2 separate regions of the Homo sapiens genome follow, and region 1 is linked to region 2. The links are contacts of gene promoters, found by promoter capture Hi-C in human tissues and cell types (Jung and others, 2019). All regions are on one chromosome and are shown on one strand. Each heading gives the region's core, a stretch centred on a gene start or on the middle of the fragment in contact. The rest is flanking DNA. Distances are from core to core; before and after follow the strand shown. Region 1 holds the start of LOC102723870 (a long non-coding RNA gene). Region 2 holds the start of ZBTB8B (zinc finger and BTB domain containing 8B).

What was found. Contacts are between HindIII fragments. The study calls those that stand out against the background at their distance.
Region 1: a contact is called between a fragment that was not itself captured here and the fragment with the promoter of ZBTB8B in region 2, in 1 of the 25 tissues and cell types used here (aorta).

What each region holds. Positions count from the first base shown.
Region 1 is chr1:32,609,577-32,614,577 of GRCh38, reverse strand. LOC102723870 (a long non-coding RNA gene) reads left to right here and starts at 2,088. Exons shown (of 3, transcript XR_426677.5): 1 at 2,088-2,535; 2 at 4,430-4,481. RefSeq lists a silencer at 2,193-2,302 and an enhancer at 2,071-2,572. The HindIII fragment of the contact is 6,500 bases long and covers 1-4,653 here.
Region 2 is chr1:32,461,827-32,466,668 of GRCh38, reverse strand. It overlaps ZBTB8B (zinc finger and BTB domain containing 8B), which reads right to left and starts at 1,597. Exons shown (of 4, transcript NM_001145720.2): 1 at 1,564-1,597. The HindIII fragment of the contact is 24,686 bases long and covers 1-4,842 here.

The DNA.
Region 1 (5,001 bases), core at 154-2,653, 150 kb before region 2:
TTGCAGTGAGCCAAGATTGCACCACTGCCCTCCAGCCTGGGCAACAGAGCGAGACTCCGTCTAAAAAATAAAATGAAATTAATATAATATAATATAATATAATATAATATAATATAATATAATATAATATAATATAACATAATATAATAATAAACTACCTCCCAGTATAAACACTAAAGACATTATAGTCATGGGCTCTGAGGACTAGGCTCTGATTTTTTTTCTTGCCCAAATTCCTATCTAAGGGGTCTGGGGAATCATGCCCTACAAACCATAAATTTTCATCAGATGAGTTTTATTTAACCCTATATATCATGACTTACTTTCCAATCTGACTCTGGCATAACATTTTTTTTTTTTTTTGAGACAGTCTCAGTCTGTCACCCAGGCTGGAGTACAGTGGTGCGATCTCGGCTCACTGCAGCCTCCACCTCCTGGGTTTAAGTGATTCTCCTACCTCACCTCCCAAGTAGCTGGGACTATGGGCATGTGCCATCGCACCCGGCTAATTTTTGTATTTTTAGTAGAGACAGGGTTTCACCATGTTGGCCAGGCTGGTCTGGAACTCCTGGCCTCAGGTGATCCGCCCACCTCGGCCTCCCAAAGTGCTGGAATTACAGGTGTAAGCCACCGTGCCCAGCCTTCTTTTCAGAAAGAAAGTCTGGCTCTGTTGCTCGGAGTACAGTGGCATGATCATAGCTCACTGCAGCCTTAAACTCCTGGGCTCAGGTGATCATCCTGCCTCAGCCTCCTGAGTGGCTGGGACTACAGGCATGTGTCACTATGCCTGACTGCTGTTTTTTTGGGAGACAGTATAACTACCCAGTGGGTTCACCTTACCTGCTGCCTAGACAGAGGCGATTTATGAAGACAGGGGAATTGCAATAGGGAAAGAGTAATTCACGCAGAGCTGGCTCTGCGGGAGACCAGAGTTATATTATGACTCAATTAAGTTTGCCCAGTATTTGGGGATCAGAGTTTTTAAGGACAACTTGGTGGGTGGGGGGAAACCAGTGAGCCGGGAGTGCTAATTGGTCAGGTCACAGATGAAATCATAGGGAGTGGAAGCTGTCTTCTTGCGCTAAGTCAGTTCTTAGGTGTGGGGGGGGGGGGGTCACAAGATCAGATGAGCCAGTTTATCGATCTGGGTGGTCCCAGCTGATCCATCAAGTGCAGGGTCTGCAAAATATCTCAAACACTGATCTGAAGAGCAGTTTAGGGAGGGTCAAGATTTTGTAACCTCCAGCTGCATGAATCCTAAACCATAATTTCTAATCTTGTGGCTAATTTCTTAGTCCTACAAAGGCAGCCTAGTCCCCAGGCAAGGAGGTTTGTTTTGGGAAAGGGCTGTTATCATCTTTGTTTTAAACTATAAACTATAAGTTTCTCCCGAAGTTAGTTCAGCCTCCACCCAGGAATGAACAAGGATAGCTTGGAGGTTAGAAGCAAGATGGAGTCAGGTTAGATCTCTTTCCACTGTCTCAGTCATAATTTTGCAAAGGCAGTATTTTGCCCAGGCTGGTCTCAAACTCCTGGCCTCAAGCAATCCTTCCACTTCCTCCTCCCAAAGTGCTGGTATTACAGGCGTCAGTCACTGTGTCCAGCCCCCTCTTTAATTCTAAAGAAGGTCCACAGTGCTTGGTGAAGGGGTGTCATCATTCTAGAGACAACCCTGGGAGCCCGTGCCATCTGCACAAGTGACATGGTAGCTAGAATCTTAGTTTATTAAGCTGGGCAGGCTGAGTCACTCGTTTCTGCTTTTCCCTCTCCTTTCTCTTCTCCAGACTTATTTCCCGTCTCCTACTTATCTACTGTGGCTTTTTCCTGTGCTAATCTAGCTTTCTTTCTCCCATATCTTCGTTGAGCATCTATATTCAAAAGCCTGCACTTCAGGCCAGGCGCGGTGGCTCACGCTTGTAATCCCAGCACTTTGGGAGGCGAGGTGGGTGGATCACATGAGGCCAGGAGTTCAAGACCAGTCTGGCCAACATGGTGAAACCTCGTCTCTAATAAAAATACAAAAAAATTAGCCGGGCATGTGGCGCACGCCCATAATCTCAGATACTAGGGAGGCTGAGGCGGAAGAATCGCTTCAACCCGGGAGGCAGAGGTCACAGTGAGCTGAGATCGAGCCACTGCACCCCAGCCTGGGCGACAGGACGCCAGTGAGATGCCTCTGGCCAAATCCCACGGGAGTGGTTCCCTGGCATCACGCGTCCAGGCTCCGCCCCGGCCCTTCTCGCGGCTCCCATTGGCTCGGCCGCGGACTCCTGGGGCGCCGACACCTCCTACTGGCCGCCGCGGCGAGGTCAGGGAGCAGGGCACTGGCCAGTCCCAGCTGAGTTGGGAGGTGTCGGGGACGCAAGTGACTTCACAGAGCACAATGTCATAACCTTAAGTAACACCAGACAACTTTTCCTAAAGTGGGGATAAGATAGGCTTGCTCTGTAGGCTGCAGGTCTTAAGCACCTGCGGCGGCATCTGATCGCGCGGATTCGAGTCCCCTCCGCCCCTGAGTCGTGGCGTGGCTTCCAGGTTAGTCATTCCAGTGCACAACCCCCCAAGTCCAACTGTTTTAAATGAGGACGGTGCTGGATCTAGTCGGTGCCTGGCAAATGTGGGCTTTTTATTTTTATTTTTTAATTTATTTTTATATTTTTTTTCTGAGATGGAGTTTTGCTCTTTTTGCCCAGGCTGGAGTGCAATGGCATGATCTCGGCTCACTGCAACCTCCGCCTCCCGGGTTCAAGTGATTCTTCTGCCTCAGCCTCCCGAGTAGCTGGGATTACAGGCGCCCACCACCACGCTCTGCTAATTTTGTATTTTTAGTAGAGACGGGGTTTCACGATGTTGGCCAGACTGACCTGATCTCAGGTGATCCGCCGGCCTCGACCTCCCAAAGTGCTGGGATTACAGGCGTAAGCCACTGCGCCGGGCCAAATGTGGGCTTTTTATAAGGCGTCCACTACACACGACAGAAAAATGCCTATTTCCCCCTATCGCCCCCAGAGTCTAGCTAATCTAGCTTTAGGAGTGTCTGGTAAATCCCAGGCCTCTCCGACGGGGGCGGTGGGGGAAGGGGGGTCTAGCTGTTAGACTGAATAACTTTCCAGGAAAAGTAGTTGTGACGAAAAACAGGACTGAAAAGGAAGAGTTTCTACCCCTTAATCTCGCTCACTGGCATAGTCATCCCTGAAAATAATATATAAAGTCATGGTTTATAGAGGGTTCACTTGCTTGAACGTGATATCCATTGTTTAGGGAGAAAAAACCCAGGCTTTTTTATCTATTTGTTACTTTTTTAATAGACAGTGTCTCACAATGTGGCCCAGGCTGGAGTGCAGTGGCGCAATCATAGCTCACTGCAGTTTTGAATTCCTGGGCTCAAGGGATCCTCCCGCCCCAGCTTCGCTTCCCAAATAGCTGGGACTACAGGCCTGTGCCACCATGCCCGCCTAATTTTAATTTTTTGGGTTTTTTTGGTGGAGGTAGAATGTCACTGATGCCCAGGCTGGCCTCGAACTCCTGGCCTCAAGTGATTCTCCCACCTCAGCCTCCCAAAGCGCTGATATTACAGGAGTGAACCAATGTGGCCATATCTCAAGGCCTTCATTTTTTAACACGTGGTGCTAATACTTTCAGCTGGGGTTTTCAACTCCTGGGTTTTTTGTGGACTTTTTCCTCAGTATACAGAAAAAGTTTAAAATCAATTCAGATAGGCAACAAAAGGCACAGTATCTTTTCTTTTGTTTTTTGAGAAGTTTCACTCTTGTTGCCCAGGCTGGAGTGCAGTGGCACAATCTCAGCTCACTGCAACGTTGCCTCCTGGGTTCAAGCGGTTCTCCTGCCTCAGCCTCCTGAGTAGCTGGGATCACAGGTGTGCACCAACACGCCCGGCTAATTTTTGTATTTTTGGTAGAGACGGGGTTTCACCATGTTGGCCAGGCTGGTCTTGAACTCCTGACCTCAAGTGATCCACCTGCCTCGGCTTCCCAAAGTGCTGGAATTACAGGTGTGAGCCACAGTGCCTGGACTCAGCATGTAACCTTTTAAAATTATGCAAGAAAATAAAAAGAAAAAAAATTATGGGCCAGTCATGGTGGCTCATGCCTGTAATCCTAGCACTTTGGGAGGCCGGGGCTGGCGGATCATCTGAGGTCAGGAGTTTGAGACCAACCGGGCCAATATGGCGAAACCCCATCTCTACTAAAAATACAAAAATTAGCTGGGTATGGTGGCCCATGCCTATAATCCCAGCTGCTTTGAGGCTGAGGCAGGAGAATCGCTTGAACCCGGGAGGCGGAGGTGTGAGCCAAGATCACACCACTGCACTCCAGCCTGGGCGACAGAGCAAGACTCCGTCTCAAAAAAAAAAAAAAATTATGCAAGAAAGTACCATTTTGTCATTGGAAGAAATTCTTTTTTGCAGGAGACTGAAGAGATATACTTGTCATGAATGGATTGCAAACATAACCTTCAAGGTGGGAATGAAAATGGTACTCTATCTAAAAGTTGTGTTTTATTTTTAAAGCTTTTTTTAAAAATGGTAATTCTTGAAGAAATAAAGCAAAAGAGAAGTTTGCTTTGTTTCCAAATTCGTCTGAAGTCTTCTTTAAATAATACAGTAGTATTTTCCTGCCTCTCTAGTATTCCATTTAACTGGAACTAAAGAATGACTTAATTCAATTATTTTATGGAATTCTAAAGTGTAGCAATTGAGCTTTTACAGAGCTTGGAGTGTTCTGGTTCCTTTCTTTAAAAAGAAAATATTAAAGCTTGTAAAATTTCAGTATGTAGTATTTCAGTCACGTATTCATTACATAGTTCTTTTATTGGTTTGAAATACTGTGTGAATTCCCAGAATGCAATACCCATAATCAAATAAAATGCAAATGCATCCCAAAATAAAAATGGGGTATTTTAAGACTACTCATTATTTTATTAGAGTGTCGATATTACTTGTCTCTATTAAAAACCTTAGATAATGGAACATGCAGTGTG
Region 2 (4,842 bases), core at 348-2,847:
ATTATTTTTATTCTACTTCCTGACGTTGCAAAAGTCTATCCGTATAGTATTTTCTTCAAAATTTTCCCCAATCCTGTACTTGGTATATATTGTGTAAATATTTATTTATATCACCCCCATTTGCCTGAAGTGCTCTGCTGCCCCGGGAAGTGCTGAGGATCACCACTTATCCCAGAAGAGCAGCTCTTAGGGCAGACTGCTCTCAGAAGCACATTTATCCGCACTCTGGCAGGGAACCTCCCAACCATCCCACGGTTCCAACTCAATTCAACGGTTACCGGCTACATACAATGCCTGACACAAGGAAGATGCCAGGAATAGAAAAATGAACCAAGTATAGTGCCTGTCCTCCAGGAGACAGCAGATGCCAACACAACTACCTGCAATACAAACTCTCATATACCCTTGAGGGAGTCCTAGCCAGATCACACAACTGTCTCTGTTCAGAGGCCAAAAGCAGCCTTGAATTCCACCTCCGACCCTTTCTGACAAGACTCCTCCAGTCCCACCAACCTGAGAATAACAAAAACCTGCTCCTCAATTTTAGTAAATATTAAGCACTATTCCTTATAAAACACTGTACAAAGTACAAGCATATTCATTTTACTTTTTAAATTAAAATTTTTAAAAGGCACGGTCTTGCTCGGTTGCCCAGGTTGGAGTGCACGATCCTACCTCAATGCAGCCTGGAACTCCTGGGCTCAAGAGATCCTCCCAACCTTAGCTTCCCGAGTAGCAGGGACTACAGGTGCGCGCCACCATGCCTGGCTTTTACAAGCACATTAGTTTTCACCTCACAATAATCCAGTACGACAGATACTCTAACTACATCCTCTTTTTCAGAGGAGGAACTGAGATTCAAAGATGCAGATAACATCACCAAGTTAGTAATAGAACAGAGATCCGACTGACTCCCGGGTTGACATCCTTAACCACTATGCTAACCGGCCTCCTCAAACCCTCCAGGACACGATGCGACAGGTTGGGGAAGTCACTCCTTTCTTTTAGGCATGGATCGGAGGAGAAGGACACTGGAGAAGTTTCCATTTCCATACGAAGAATTTCAGGGTCAACTGCATCTAAACTGCTCGCAAGACAGACCCTCCCCCGTCCAGCATCAGACGACCTGCAGAGAGGCCACCAGAACCAGCTACAGGGCACGGCCCCCGAGGGTGGGACCCCAAGGCCTAGCCCCTCCCATGGCCTCCCGCGGACAAAGTGGCCATCGCTGCCGCTGGCACTTCTCCAGTGTGGCCGAGCCCCCCACGCCTGGGCACCATTCACCGTGGAAGTAGTCGGCGCCGCGACCCCCGGCTGGACGACGCGGAGGACACCCAATGACAGGGAAGCTGGGGCCCCACGGCCGCGCCTGCCCCTCCCCACGCTAGAAGGGCTCGCGGGGCGGAGGTCCCAGGAGTTGCCAGGGCCAAGCGGTCCGAAGGAGGATGACTGAGTGGGGGCAACCCTGCCCGCTAACCCCAATCTCCAGCCAGCCTCCCGGGTGCTAGGAATCCTCCCCAAACCAACGAAAGCGGCAGCGCCAACCCGCTTCTTCGCGCTCACCTTCCAGCGGGTTCCAGCAGCGCAGCCACGGAGCACCGCGCACCGACACGCCCCCCTTTCATTCACCTGGCGCCCTCCGATGAGAGGCGGGGCGGCTGGCCAATCGCGGGAGCGCCTGGCCTCGGGAAGGCGGGCCCTTCGGCCAGCAGGGTGGTCAATGGCGCTGGTGCCCCTCGGAGGATGCGCTCTGAAGGCGCTGGTGCTCGCAGGGTGATGGGAGTTGTGGTCTCAGCGCTGGCTTTTCGGGTAAAGATAGAGTGGACAAAACTACAAGTACCAAGATGCCAAAAGGGGCGAGGACCAGTGCTAGCGAAAGGCTGCAGCTCGGTTCGGTCTTTTGAGTCCCACTTGAGGGACCTGCCAAGTACCGGTCTCTTTGTCTGGAGAGCGAAAAGCACGTCGTGGGTATTAATGCAGTCCAGGGAATAAGAGCTTTGACTCATCAGTCCGCACATATTTCACCTACTGGCGCTTTCCGCAAAAATCTGGAAATAAGGGAAATGGTTTAATCGATTCAACAGGTTTTTATTGCATACCCGCGGTTTCTTTCACTGGGTAGTCGTTACAAAAGATAAAAGATTCAGCTCTTCCCTTGACAGGCTCTCCGGTTCATACATACTAGTGAAACGGTTAAATGGCAGTACTAGGTGCTAAGTGACCGTACAGGCGTGTTCTTGTCAGCTGTGAGCAAGACAAGGCAGCTTACCGCTCTCAGGGAGCTTAGTTCTCATGGGGGTGTATTCGTTTGCTAGGGCTGCTGTACCTAAGTATCACCAACCCGGTGGCGTCAATAACAGATCTTATTGTCTGACAATCCTGGGGGCATCTGAAAGCAAGATGTTGGCAGGGTTCTTTCCTTCTGAGCGCTGTGAGGAAACGGTCTCTTCCAGGCTTCTCTCCTGGGCTTGCATATGGCCATCTTCATGTTCACAGGGCATATTCCCTGTATATGTCTCCATGTCAAAATGTCTCCTTTTGGTTGCAGTGAGTCGAGATCGCGCCACTGCACTCCAGCCTGGGGCGACAGAGAGAGACTCCGTCTCCAAAAAAAAAGTATTTTTATAAGGATACCAGTCATATTGGATTAGGGGTTCACTCTATGCCAGTATGACTTTTTTTTTTTTTTTTTTTTTTTTTTTGAGACGGAGTCTCAGACTCTGTTGCCCAGGCTGGAGTGGTGGCGGGTGGATCACCTGAGGTCAGGAGTCCGAGACCAGCCTGGCCAACATGGTGAAACCCCATCTCTACTAAAAATACAAAAATTAGCCGGGCGTGGGCCAGTAATCCCAGCTACTTGGGAGGCTGAGGCAGGAGAATGCTTGAACCAAAGAGATTGCAGTGAGTGGAGATCTGGCCACTGCACTCCAGCCTGGGCAGCAGAGCAAGACTCTGTCTCAAAAAAAAAAAAAAAAAAAAAAAAGGCTACCCCCTTCGCTGAGAGACCCTAATGAGGAGTAGTGAGCCATGCTAAGATAAAACAGAAAACCGGTTGGTACATATCTAAGAAACAGGAGAATGCCATTGGGTTGAGGAAGTGGATGGCAGGTAGACCAGCTTAATGGACGTGCAACCCACGCAGTGGCACAGGCCCGCACACTCAGAAAGGGCTGGTGCTTCCAGGTGAGGTTTTATACTTAACAAAACAAAACAAAAAAAGAGCCAGGTGCGGTGGCTTACACCTGTAATCCCAGCACTTTGGGAGGCTGAGGCGGGCGGATCACTTGAGACCAGCCTGGCCAACATGGCAAAACCCAGTGTCTACTAAAAATACAAAAATTAGCTGGGCATGGTGACACATACCTGTAATCCCAGCTACTCGGGAGGCTGAGGCATGAGAATCACTTGAACATGGAAAGTGGAGGTTGCAGTGAGCTGAGATTGTGCCACTGCACTGTTTCAAGGAGGAGGAGGACGAGGAGGAGGAGAGAGGGAAGAGGGAAGAAGAAGAAGAGGAAGAGGAAGGAGAGGAAGGAGAAGGAGGAGGAGGAGAAGAAGAAGAAGAAGAAAGATTTAATTACTAACAAAAAGAAAATCTAAATAAATATTTTAAAAATTAAAAAAAAGGAAAGGGCTGATGCCTGGTTTAATGCTCTGCCATTGCCCTCTTAAAATTCTTAGTAGTTTTTGAACAAGGAGCTCTGCATTTTCATTTTGCATTGGGCCCCACAAATTATGTAGCCAGTCCAAGCGACAGGAAATATGAATGGATAGAGAAGCAAAGGCCAGATTATGTAGGAATTTGTAGGCCACCTTAAGGAGTTTGGATTTTTTCTTATGAATGTGAAGGGACACCTTCGAAGGATCTTAAGCAGGGAAGAGATAAGATATGATCTCTCCCCTGCTGATAGATGCTGATAACTGGGGATAGGGTAGAGGTGGTAGAGATGGAGGGGTTTGTTTAGGATATATTTTAGAGCTTGTCAAAAATGTAATTGCAGTTCACTCTAAAGATAACTTAATAATTTTAGAAGGTAAAATGTCAGCCAAACACCACTATACTATCTATCAAAGAAAAGTAGTTTACCTATTTCTTGTAAAGCTGGATACCCAGAGAGGGACAGCAGCAGTTACATCTTTCCTGTTAGTGTGGCTGTCCTTGCCACCTGGTTCCCAAAGGCCAGCTCAGGTGCTGAGGACTTTTGATCATCATAGCAGCAGAGAAAGCATCAGAAGTGAGGAGCACCAAGCTTCTCTGGGCTCAGCCTTTTGTATCTTCTTACCTGGGAAGTCATGTCACTGATGCCTTCACCTTAATTATGACTGTACCTGGAACTCACCCTAGTATTCATTCCACATCTCCTGCATCCAGGCTCCAAGTTTCAGGTCCCAAATTTTATGACTATGGCACACGCAACCTGTACTGGATGACCTAGTAACATTCCAGACTGCTAACGTAAAAGGGCTTTTTGGGGTGGCCTGCATAGGACATGCCCCTGACAACTAGGCATAGGAAATGTTAGAGGCCTTATGATCTCTAGATCTGTTGTGGTCTGCTGTGGGACTTACTCTCGCCACCAAGACCAGCACAACCTTTAGTGTTAGATGCTCTGAACTTCAGTATATTTTTCAAGGTTCAGTTAAAACCAACCTGGCTAGTTTAAGCAAAAAGCAACCTGGCTAGTTTAAACAGAAAAGAATTCATATAAGGAATTAAGTAATACAAATTATCAGGGAGGCTAGAGAATGACTCTGCAGGGATGACTCCAAACTGTCCCAACAGGGTAGCTACCCATTTTTGCTGCAATCAGGAAGGTAAGAAATCAGGACATCACCACTGTA